Linked DNA regions of Homo sapiens: all the other regions are linked to region 3. The links are contacts of gene promoters, found by promoter capture Hi-C in blood cells and fetal thymus (Javierre and others, 2016). All regions are on one chromosome and are shown on one strand. The core of a region is centred on a gene start or on the middle of the fragment in contact, and the rest is flanking DNA. Distances in the headings are between cores, read along the strand shown.

Evidence for each region. The method cuts DNA at HindIII sites, captures the fragments that hold promoters and counts their contacts. A CHiCAGO score of 5 or more calls a contact.
Region 1: a fragment that was not itself captured here is called in contact with the fragment with the promoter of GSG1L in region 3 in 4 of 17 cell types (M0 macrophages, M1 macrophages, endothelial precursors and 1 more); the score reaches 7.1 in M0 macrophages.
Region 2: a fragment that was not itself captured here is called in contact with the fragment with the promoter of GSG1L in region 3 in 1 of 17 cell types (M2 macrophages); the score reaches 5.1 in M2 macrophages.

Annotation. Positions count from the first base shown.
Region 1 is chr16:27,980,121-27,984,114 of GRCh38, forward strand. The region is part of intron 1 of GSG1L (GSG1 like); the gene reads right to left. Among named protein-coding and RNA genes, the nearest start is that of GSG1L, 82 kb to the right of the region's middle. The HindIII fragment of the contact is 1,249 bases long and covers 1,338-2,586 here.
Region 2 is chr16:27,951,801-27,955,838 of GRCh38, forward strand. All of the region lies in intron 2 of GSG1L (GSG1 like), which reads right to left. Among named protein-coding and RNA genes, the nearest start is that of GSG1L, 110 kb to the right of the region's middle. The HindIII fragment of the contact is 3,477 bases long and covers 175-3,651 here.
Region 3 is chr16:28,061,347-28,065,235 of GRCh38, forward strand. GSG1L (GSG1 like) reads right to left here and starts at 2,368. Exons shown (of 7, transcript NM_001109763.2): 1 at 1,730-2,368. The coding sequence starts at 2,078. The HindIII fragment of the contact is 8,058 bases long and covers 1-3,889 here.

The DNA of each region.
Region 1 (3,994 bases), core at 712-3,211, 82 kb before region 3:
AGGCAAAATCAAGGGGGGTGGCCAGAGGCAGATGCCCAATGCTGGCAGAAGGTGTGCAGAGCATTGAGGGTCTGCCAAGTTACCCTTGGCATGGACATTGGGCGCCCAGGTCCTGGTTGGCAGCAGAGATGTGGGCAACGAGACAGGGGGAAGGGGTCACTAAGGAGCCCAGCATCCTTGGCTGAATCCCCAGATCCTGGGTCTGAAGATCGTGACTTAATTCCATACCCCACCAGATGGTGTTGCTGAGGCTTCCATGGAGTCAGGAGGTGGGGAGAGGCGGGGAAGGCAGGGTCAACAGAGAGAGGCAGTAGCAACAGTTTCACAAAGTCAACCAGCCAATAACACGTGCTGACATGCTTTATGCGCCTACCAACGTGTGTTCTAAGTGCTTTACATGCATCAATTGCTAATCTGCACGACAGCCTATGAGGCAGCTCCTATGACCACACCCATTTTACAGATGAAGAAACTGAGGCTGGCTGGGCACGGTGGCTCAGGCCTGTAATCTCAGCACTCTGGGAGGCTGAGGTGAGCAGATCATTTGAGCCCAGCAGTTCGAGACCAGCCTGGCCAACATGGTGAAACCCTGACTCTACTAAAAATACAAAATTAGCCAGGCACGATGGCACATGCCTGTAATTCCAGCTACTCTGGAGGCTGAGGCAGAAGAACCGCTTGAACCTGGGAGGCAGAGGTTGCAGTGAGCTGAGATCACGCACTGCACTCTAGCCTGGGCAATAGAGTGAGATGTCGTCTCAAAAACCAAAAACCAAAAAACAAAAAAAAAAAAAAAAGAAAGAAAGAAAAAAAGAAACTGAGGCAGAGGGAGATTGAGTGAATCACTTGTCTAACTTTACACAGCTAGTGGTGGAGCCAGGATTCCAATCAAGACAGCTTGGCACAGAGCCTTTGATTTGGTCATTCCTCTGTACTACATCTTAGCAGAGCAGGCAGGTCCTAGTAAAATTCATTCCTCCTAAGGAAAGTCCCACACACCCTCCAGAGACCCCACACGTGGCAGGAGAACCTAGCAGCCTTCCAGACGTGCCCAGCGAAGTGGACTCAAATCTGGCTGGTTCAAAGTTTGACCCTGGTTCCGAGACCCAGATTCCACAAGCAGCAAAGCTTTTTGGCAGGTGCATGGTAAATTTTCTTCATAGTTGAGTGCTTTCAACTTGCTGGGCGGGCAGAGAAGAATCAGTCCTGGTCCCCAGCAAATGAGGCCAATGGGGAATGATTTTAACTGGTTGGCAAGGGCAAGAGTTCATACACCTTTGCTGGCCAGATTCAAGGAATTCAGCTGGGGGAAAAAAATGCCAACAGATCTTGTGTGAAGCTTCTCCTCTCACTATCTGGGCTGGCGGCAGAGCCTTGGCAAGCACTTCCTTGGATTCTCCGGAGGCCTCTGCCAGTTCAACTGACGGGGCAGCAGATGGCACACACTTCTCTGCTGATGATATTTTGATTTATTTATCTCTTACAGATGGTACCATGCCTTGATTTCTGGCAGGAGTCCAAAATGCAGGTCAACTTTCTGGGGATAATCGTTTCTACAAATGGATGAAATACTGAAGACTAAAACCCCGCTTGGCATCATGACTGCTACACCGTGGCCTCCAGACATACGTTGCTTGGGCATTTGGGGCATTTTGTATAAATCAAGGGAAGAATTTTGTTCTCAAGAATGTTAAAGCTGAAGAAGCTAAATGCTTATCTAAAATTAGAATTATAGTGATTAAATGTAAGAGATTTAAACTTACAGAGTCCTGAATTCAAGTCTCAGCTCTGCCACATACAAGCTCTGTGACCCAGGGGTCAGACTCTCTGGGTCTTAGTTTCCACATCTGTAAAATGGTTATAATTGTCACCTCTACCACATCAGGTATGGCAGAAACAGCTAGCTATCTACCAAAAGAAGTGATCTTCTGTAGTATGGAGTTATTGCTAAGAAGTAGCTGCCCTGGCCAGGCACCATGGCTCATGCCTGTAATCCCAGCACGCTGGGAGGCTGAGGAGGGAGGATCACTTGAGGCCAGGAATTTGAGACAAGTCTGGGCAACACAGCAAGAGCTTGTCTCTATAAAAAACAAAAAATGAGCCAATGTGGTGACACGCACCTGTAGCCCTAGCAACTCAAAAAGCTGTGGTGGGAGGATTACTTGAGCCCAGGAGTTCAAGGCTGCAGTGAGCTATGATTGTGCCATTGCACTCAGCCCAGCCAGGTACAATATTTCCCAGCATCCCCCGCATCCCAGTGGGGTCATGTGAGCAGTGGGTCACGTGACTAGTTCCTGCCAATATGATGTGTGTGTGCGTGAAGTGAGGCAATTCCTGGGGAGGGCTTTTATGAAATGGGTGTACTCTCTCTTTCCTCTTCCACCTAGATGCAAAGGGCTCTAAGGCTCCATGAAATGGAACAATTTGGAAGTTGCATAGTCCCCTGGGTTAGTCTATTTTGCGTTGCTATAAAGGAATACCTCAGACTGGGTAATTTATAGAGTATGAGGTTTATTTGGCTCGTGGCTCTGCAGGCCATATAAGCATGGTATCAGCATCTGCTCTGCTTCTGGTCAGGCCTCAGGAAGCTTTTACTCATGTTGGAAGGTGAAGGGGGAGTAGGCGTATCACATGGTGAGAGCAGGAGCAAGAGAGAGGAGAGGACCTTCCAGTTTCTTTAACAACCAGATCTTGCATGAACTCATTGTCGTGGGCAGGGCACCAAGTCATTCATAAGGGATCCACGCCCATGACCCAAACACCTCCTACCAGTCCCCACCTCCAACATGGGGGATCACATTTCAACATGAGATTTGTAGGGGACAAATTACCAAACCATATCATCCCAAAACACTATGTAGAGTAGAACTGCCATCCACCAGGACCACCTGTGCTGACATGTTACATGAGCAGGAAACAAACTTCTATTGCTAGCTGGGCACAGTGGCTCACACCTGTAATCCCAGCACTTTGGGAGGACAAGGCAGGAGGATCACTTGAGTCCAGGAGTTTCAGACCAGCTGGGACAACATGTTGAAACCCTGTTTCTACTGAAAATACAAAAATTAGCTGGGCATGGCGGTGCATGCCTGTAGTCCCAGCTACTCAGGAGACTAAGGAAGGAGGATCACTTGAGCCCAGGAGTTTGAGGCTGCAGTGAGCCCGGATCATGTCACTGCACTCCAGCCTGGGTGACAGAGCAAGACTCTGTCTCAAAAAAATAATAATAAAAATAAAAATTAATAAAAGAAAATAAACTTCTACTGTTACTCCATTGACATTTCAGGGCTTATTTGTTACAGCAGCTAGTGCTGCCCTACACATAGGGTAGCTGGAGATAAATGAGGTAATACATGTGAGGCACGTGGTGCAGGACAAGGACTCAGTTTCAGGGAAGCTTGATAAATTAAAGAATTGTGATTTTTGTAATGTCATCCCATATGTTTGGTTTGGTTTAAAGCAAGGCAAATATTTTCCCCTTATCTCAGTCTTATTTCTGCCCTTTTTCTAAATATAGAGATGGGGTCTCACTATGTTGCCCAGGCTGGTCTCAAACTCCTAGGCTCAAGCAATCCTCCCTCCTCAGTTACCCTATCTCATTCTCCAAGAGCATGCTTTGAAAGAGAAATCAAAATGGGGGGCAGGGATACTGGGGAGTTTTTTTGGAGGCATTCTATGGCTGACACTGTGAGATTGTGGCCCATGATTATCTGCATCTCAGCTTGCAGGAAAACAGCCTGTTGCATGGCAAGAGTGACACCATCTTGAAGTGAAATTGCCATGATGAACAATGTTTGACTCCCGCAGCAAGGTCTTTAAACGACACCTGTGGCATAAATAACCCCTGATAGAGAAACAATGCCCATAGCATAGATAACCCCTTGTCAAGATGCTTATCCAACATCCTCAGTGGTCATGAGTTTTGCAAGAAAGTCTGAGGTGTGACCAGCTACGCATGGTTTTTATCCTAAAAGTTTGCTAGAGAAAGGATATT
Region 2 (4,038 bases), core at 663-3,162, 110 kb before region 3:
GAGCAGCAGAATTGTAAATCGATTTCAGGCGGAGAACAGAGAGGTTGAGGGAACGAACAAGAGACTATTATAGGAACTGAAGTGAGAAATGACTCACGCAAGACTCAAGAGTGTGACCATGGAGCCAACCACATTGTTACACATCCCTGAAATATTAAACAAATGAAACCTACAAGCTTTGGAGATTGCTTCACAAAAATTGCTGGCTGGTGGCTGCCAGAAATCCCAGGGCACCAAGAAACAGGAGCAGGGAGCAGGGATGACTTAAAATACAGTTCAACCCAGGTGGGTCAGAGGAGATCACAGCTTCAGGAGTCAGATCCAGGTTTCTAAGCCCAAATGGGCCACCCACTATCTATAACCTGGCCCCTATTCATTCACTCATTCACCCATTCATTTATTCAACAAACCTTTACTAAATTCTTGCTCTGTACAGCCCCGTCGGGCACACAGGCGCCACAAAGACAAGATGCAGTGCTTGTGTTGAGGGAGTATCCAGCCTGCTGGAGGAGGTCACCACAACACAGCGGGATCAGTGCTCAGAGGACCAGTCTCTGTAAGTAGGTTCCTCTGGGGGTTTAGGGATAGCTTTTCACAAAAGGTCATTTCTAAGCTGGGTTTTGAAGGATGAATATAAGTTTGCAAAGCAAACGAGGTGGTAAAGGCAAGTCAGGCAGAGGGAACAGCACATGCAAAGGCACAGAGGCATGAGAGGTGATGGATAGTTTGGGGGAAATGGATGTGTGCAGAGCATCAGGACTGGAGCACAGGATTCACATAAGGGACTGTAGGAGGCAGGGATTGAAAAGGCAGACAAGAACTAGACCGTGCTGGGCCATAAATGCCAGGTTAAAATGCCCTGTGTATGTTTGAGAGCCATGCAAAGGTTTTCAGCAGGGGCCTGATGTAACTGGATTTTCATTTTAGAAAGATAATTTGAAATTCAGCATAGGAAACACTTTTCTTTCCTTTTTAGCAAAGTATACAACACGCACACAGAAAACTGCATATATCCTAAGCATGCAGCTTGGTGAACTTCCTTTAAACTGAACATATACACATAATTAGCACTCAGATCAAGAAACATAATGCTGCCAGCTGCCAAGCCCTCCGCAAGTTCCCTTTCAGTTACACCTTCTCTGCAAGGGCAACCGCTGACCCAACTTCTAACAATACAGATAGGGCTTCTGCATTTTCCGGTTTTGCAGGAATGCAATCATATGGAATGTATTCTTTTGAATGCAGCTTCTTTTACCTAACATCCATGTTGTGAGCAGTCATATTTGTTTTTTTCTTTTCTTTTTCTTTTAGAAACAGAGTCTCACTATGTCATCCAGCCTGGATTGCAGCATGATTACAGCTCACTGCAACCTCTACCTCCTGGGCTCAAGTGATCCTCCTGCCTCAACCTCACAAGTAGCTGGGAGTACAGGTGCGTGCCACCACACTGGGCTAATTTATAAATTTTTCATAGAGATGGGGTCTTGCTGTTTTGCCCAGCCTGGTCTCAAATTTCTGGCTTCAAGCGATCTTCCCACCTTGGCCTCCCAAAGCACTAGGATTACAGGTATGAGCCACCATGCCTGGCTGTACATTGTTCATTTTCGTTGCTCTATAGTTTTCCATTAGGTGTGTTGATGAGCATTGAGGAATGGATTTTAAGCAGCGCAGACTGGAGTCTGGGAGGCCAACTGAGAGATTATTGTCATGGCAGGAGAGATGTGATGAGAAGCAGAAAGGGGCTGTGGCAGTGGAGATAGAGAAGACGCACCAATGCAAAAGGTATTTAGGAGATAGGCTGGGTGCAATGGCTCATACTTGTAATCCCAGCACTTTGGGAGGCCAAGGTGGGCAGATCACTTGAGGTCAGGAGTTCAAAACAAGCCTGGCCAACATGGTGAAACCTCATCTCTACTAAAAATACAAAAATTAGCCAGGCATGGTGGTGCATGCCTGTAATGCCAGCTGCTCGGAAGGCTGAGGCAGGAGAATTGCTGGTACCCAGGAGGCAGAGGCTGCAGTGAACAGAGATTGCACCACCGCACTCCAGCCTAGGTGACAGAGCAAGACTCCATCTCAAAAAAACAAAGAAACAAAGATATTTATGAAACAAAAGAAACTGAACTTGTCAAATAATTGAATTTGGAAAGAGTTGAGGATGACCTTCTGGTTCCTGGCTTTGGAATCAGAGCAGATAATGGTGAAGACAGGACAATGGACAAAGAAGGGTCAAGTGTTTTCTATTGTGGACCAGCTGAGTTTGCAGTCCCTGGGGGCACTCAGGAGGAAGTGTCCAGGAGGCAGTTGGAGGTGGAATCTAGAGCTCAGGAGAGAGACCTGGGTTTACAAAGTCAAACCTGGGATTGAACATGGGGCTGAACCAAAGGCCACTGCTCTCTTTCAATACCGCCAATCATTACAGTTAAGGAATAAGAAAGTCATAAATCCTCAGAACAAAGAGGATGTGACAAGAGATAACAATAGAAAAAAAAGATGGCAGCAACATTTTAAAAGCTAGAAATTTCATGAATAGTTGGTTAATGACTTAGCAGATAGGAGAAGGCTGGAAGTTGACTACCCGCATGGAGGAAGCCACAGAGGAAACTTCAGAAAATCCTTCAAATAGAGGAACCAGGCCCAGCTGAGCTCCATACTGAAAACCAAGAATTAAGTGAAAGTCTACATGTGTGCCACTGAGATACCTCCCAGGCCCCCCATTTGATTCCCAGAATGCTGATGGCTGAGTTTATTAATACACTGGAGATGGGAGAGTTCCTCTTGCGGGAAACTGATCAGTGCAAGAGAAAAAGCCTCGTGACAGTGCGTATGGGTTCATCAGATGAACTTTTTGTTTTGTTTCATTTTGTTTTTGAGACAGGGTTTTGCCCTGTCACCCAGGCTGGAGTGTGGTGGTACGATCCTAGCTCACTGCAGCCTTGAACTCCCCAGCTCAAGCAATCCTCCCATTTCAGCCTTCTGAGTAGCTAGGACTGCAGGTACACACCACCATGTCCAGTTAATTTTATTTTTAAATTTTTCATAGAAACAGGGGTCTCACTATGTTACCTGGGCTGGTCTGGAACTCCTGGCCTCAAGCAATCCTCCTGCCTCAGCCTCCCAAAGTGCTGGGATCACAGATGTGAGCCATCATGCCTGGCCCAAATGAACTTTTTGGATGAGGAGTTTATAGCTCAGATGATTGGGAAGTCCATTGGCCAATATTCTCCCCATCTCCACTGTATCTTGAGCTTCAAAATAGTAAGTTCGCACCTCACTGTTAAACGTGAACATCAGATGTTTAAGGAAAACAATATAAAAGACAGTTGAAATTAAAATAAGATAGGCAAAAGAACTTGGAAGAAACAGAGACATTAAAGGGTAGAGAAGCAAACTTAAAAAAATTAATATCATTGGAGAAATATGAGAAGATATTGTGTCCATAAAACAAAAGCAGGAGACTATTAAAAAAAAGAACATTCCTATAACAAGAAAAAGCTCTTAAAATTAAAAGTATGACTGTAGAAATGTTAAAAGTAGACTGGCTGATTGAAATATAAAAATTGAATAAATATCTGAGGAATAAATAAAAAGGCAAATAAAAATGAAAATGGAAGATTAAAAAAAAGTGAGAACAGAAAATAAGATATTAAAAGCTTCCAGAGAGGGGAAAAAATCAGATCACACAAAAGAATCAGAATAACATTGAAATTTTCAACAACACTGGAGTCTGGAAGACAAGGGAGCAGCCAATCCTTCCCAAATTTTGTGGGAAAATTATTTCCAACCTAAAATTTTATACCCAGCAAAACATCTAGTCAAGTGTGACAGACAAATAAAAACAACATGAGACATAAAGGGTCTCAACCATGCTGTCTTTCTCAGGAAGTTACTGGAGGATATTTTTCCCCAAAATGAGGAAGTAATCCAGAAAGAAGACTACCTGGGATCCAGGAAGCAGTGGAGCCAACATGAGAGAGGGGAGGAAATTTCAAAATAATGGTAAAAAGGGCTTCCAGAATAACAGCCCTAGATAATCAT
Region 3 (3,889 bases), core at 1,118-3,617:
GTGTTGAGTGTAAACCAGAAGTGGGTCTGATGGGATGAAACCAATCAGGGGCAGGTCCATATTCAAACACCATGTATCTCTGACAAACGGCCAGCCTGGCTCAAGTCACAGAAAAGTTTGGTCAGCCACCCCCAGAAGAGAGACAGAGGAGGCAGCACCGCAGGAAGCCTCCGGTTCATCATCCCAACCCCATCCAGTATGCACCCGGCAAATGTTTATTGAAGACCTACTATGCGCTAGACATTACTGGGAGGCAGCAGTGAACAAGACCAACCGGGCTGGCCCTCACAGAGTGACATCCTATGGGGAGTGGGGACTATAAGCTAGTGACCAAAAACAGGCCCCAGAAAATGTCAGGGAGTGCCAAGTGTGGCAGGGAGATAAACGCAGTGGTGAGATCCAAAGATGGAGACCCTCCCTCCAACGGGGAGCTCACAAGGTTGTCCCTCCTCAGTATCCTGACATGGAAGGCAGGTGGGAGAGTCCCAGTGAAAGGAGCCCCTGAAGAAGGAGGTGGGGCGGGGAAGGGCATTCCAGACAGAGGATGCAGCCTGTGCAGAGGCCTGGAGCTTTTCACTGGGTTCGCTTCACAGCTTCCTCCCTCTGCCCTCTAAACCACTTAGGCCACTGGCTTATTTAGGGCAAACTAAGGGTGGAGGTCTGCTGTAACCCACCCTTGAGCACACACATATGTGTGGTGTCCACACTGAGGAGCTAGGCATGCAGGGAGGAGTTTTAACCTTGGAGAAAGAGGTCAATTCACTCAGGAGGGTGTCCATGCCTGGACACCCGCTCAGAGATACCACGTCTTTCGGGCCAGCTCTACCTGCTGTGTGGCACAACCAGCTGTCCGGCAGCTGTCCCCTGGGCCCTGCCACAGCCCGGCTGTCTGCCTCCAAAACACGCACTCCAGCCCAGGCTGCCTCTGGAGGGTAGAGGAGGGGGTCCAGGCAAAGGGGACAGTCTGATCTGCCTTCTGAAAAGTCAGTCCCCCACCGAACCTAATAGGAGCCTTGTGCTAAGCTAAGCCCTCCTGGACTCCTCGACCCGGAGTTTGCCCAGCTGTCCCCAGTTCCCTAGCCTGCCTCTCCCAGGAGGGGGCCAGGATACAGAGGGCTCCCTGGCGTCTGGCAATAGGGGTGCCTCTGGGCGGGTGCGGCTTTCCGGGAGCCCGCGGGACTCCCCCACTCCCCACTCCCGTCTGGGAGGTTCGGCGTGGGTTGGCGATGGGGGTGGAAGGCTCCCGGGTCTGTGGATCTGCGGCAGGAGGGGCGGCTGGTAGCAGGAGTCCCTGCATCACCCCCACCCCCAGGGGCGTTCCGGGGTGGGTGGGGGCATCTAGTGCCCCGCGAAAGGAAGAGGAGGAGGGGGCGAGCGTGGAGATGAGTTCAGGAGCGGAAAGCAGCGCGCGCCCCTCCGACCGGCAGCGGGGGTGGGCGCCTTCCCGGGGCGCGGGAGCGTCCCCAAAGCCGCGGGGCGTCCGCAGCGGGTAGGAGCTCTGCCTTGCACCTCTCCACGGCGGGGCGTCCCGCACGTCCCCCCATGCTGGTCCCCGGCCCCGGAACGGCGCGCGCCCCCTGCCCCGGAACGTCGCCCCTAGCCAGGCGGAGCGCTGGGAGCTGGGCCCAGGCGGCGGGAGGAGGGCGAACGGGTCCGGGGCTCGGGCCTCGATGGCCGCGCCGCCCCGGGGGAGCCGGAGCCGAGCTGGCCGCCGCCCGCGCGCACTCACCAAGCCCGCTGAGCTCCTCCTCGCACGAGTACCAGATGCCGGTGTGGAAATTCCTGAAGAGGAAGCGGTCGTCGCCGGTCTCCCAGCTGTAGAGCGCGCCGCCAGGGGGGCCGTTCCCCGAGGCGGTGGCGGCGGCGGCGGCGGCGGCGGGGGCGGCGGTGCCGTTGGCCGTGGCGTTGGCGCCCGAGTTGGGGCAGTTGGCGCGCCCGCCCTGGCCGCAGCCCGGCTTGGGGACCCGCTGCGTGCCCTGGCACCAGTGCGTGGTGAGGAAAGCGGTGGTGGCGAACAGCAGCGCCAGCAGGTTCAGGGCCACGGCCAGGAGCGCTCGGCCGCGGCGGCTAGTCTTCATGCCGCCCGCGCCGCCGGGACGGGACTGCACCGCCGGGGAGCTCCGCGCGCGAAGTTGGCAGCTGGCGCCCCGCGTCAGCGGCCGCTGCCCGCCGCGCCCCGGGGCTCGGGTGCCTGAGATCGGCGGCGGCGGACGCGGCGCGGGCCCATGCCCCCCCCAACCCCGGGGTGGGGGCGCGGCGCGGGGGGCGTGCGGGGCGGGCTGGCGGGGCGGGCGGCGGTGGAGGAGCGGCTACGGCGCGCCCGGAGCCCGGAGCGCGAGTGCACCTCGGCTAGGAGCCGCTGGCGCCTGGCAGCGGCCACGGCGCAGGGACGCGCGCCCCTCCGTGGGGAGACACCTGCAGGCGGCCGGCGACACTGTTCCGGAGCCCGCCCGCACGGGGAGAGGGGGCCGCCACGCCGGGCGCGGGCGGGGGCCTGGGAGTGGAGGGACGCCCCCGAAAGAAATCCGAGCCAGGGTGAGGGTCTGAGACGCAAGGAGAATCCCAGGCAAGGCGCTCCTGAGAAAAGATCCCCACGGCGGACGTGGGGCAACAAAACCCGCCGGGAGCGGGCATCTCATGAGACCCAGAGAGGCCCTGCCCCAGGAGACAAGGGCAGAGCCTGCTGGGGCTCCCCAAGAGGGACACGGACCAGCAGGACCCTGTCCCAGAAGGGGATCCCCAAAAGGACCCCCGCACCAGACCCTGAGAAAGGAGTTTTTCCAAAGGTTCTAAACAGCAGAGCCTGCAGGGCTTCCCACAGCCAGGGAGCTGCAAGACCCCCTGGATAAGACAACCCATGCTGGACTTGGAGTGGCAGAATCTGTCAGGAGGCGCCCCTCCTGGAGTATTGGGTTATAGGGTTTGAAACGTTTTTCTGTCTCCTGGGTGTCACCTCCAGCATCTGGGAAGAGCTCCCCTCCAAGGATGAAACTGTCATCTGGGCTCCCAACCATGGCATGCAACTGCAGGAAGAGTGGCAACAGGGTACCCCAGACAGCCCACTGCACCCACCTGAGATCCCAAACAGCAGAACCCTAGGAGGGCCCATGCCGGCCACAAAGTTATTGCAGCTACCAGGCAGTGGTGCCCTACAGGGGCTGCCAACCCTGCTCACATGCACACCATGTGAATGTGGGTAGAATCTTCAAGATTCGGGTGGGGGCAGGGTGGCCAAACATACTGACTTTGGGATCAAGCATATCTAGGGCTTGACCAGCTGTGTGGCTTTGAACAGGTCACTTACCCTCTCTGAGCCTCAATTTCCATAACTATAAAAAAGGGAGGACCCCCCCCCCTTCAAGGTATATCACAGTGGGCTGCTGTAATGAGATCATGGCTGCAAAAAGCATTTGGCACACAGTAGACTCAATTAATAATTCACTGTTACTGACATCTGAACCAAGATCAGTTGACCAAACTCAGACAAACCTCTTCAGGCTCTCCTGTGCAACGTGGAAACTGTGTGCAACCCCGTCCCCACCTCTGCTCTAAGATGACCACGCTCCCTGAACTCCCTTCGCGCTGCACAGCACTTACTGCCCAGATGCTCAGGGCGTGCAACAATTAATTGCATGTTGATTATAAGAGCTCATTTGAATTCTGCCCAAGCTGAGAACTGCTCCGACAACCCCCGGCTTGCCGAGTGGCAGGCCTTGCAGAATTCAAGGTTAACCGATTATGAATTGCCTTACTCCTGTGGGTGAGCCGGCACCCACTGTCAGCTGCTGCTAATCTGCCGGGGGGTAGGTGAGAGGAAAACGTTGTGGGCAACGTCCCTGGTAAGAGCAGGCACGAAGGATGGCCAAGGGTCTCCAAACTTGCTTTTAGA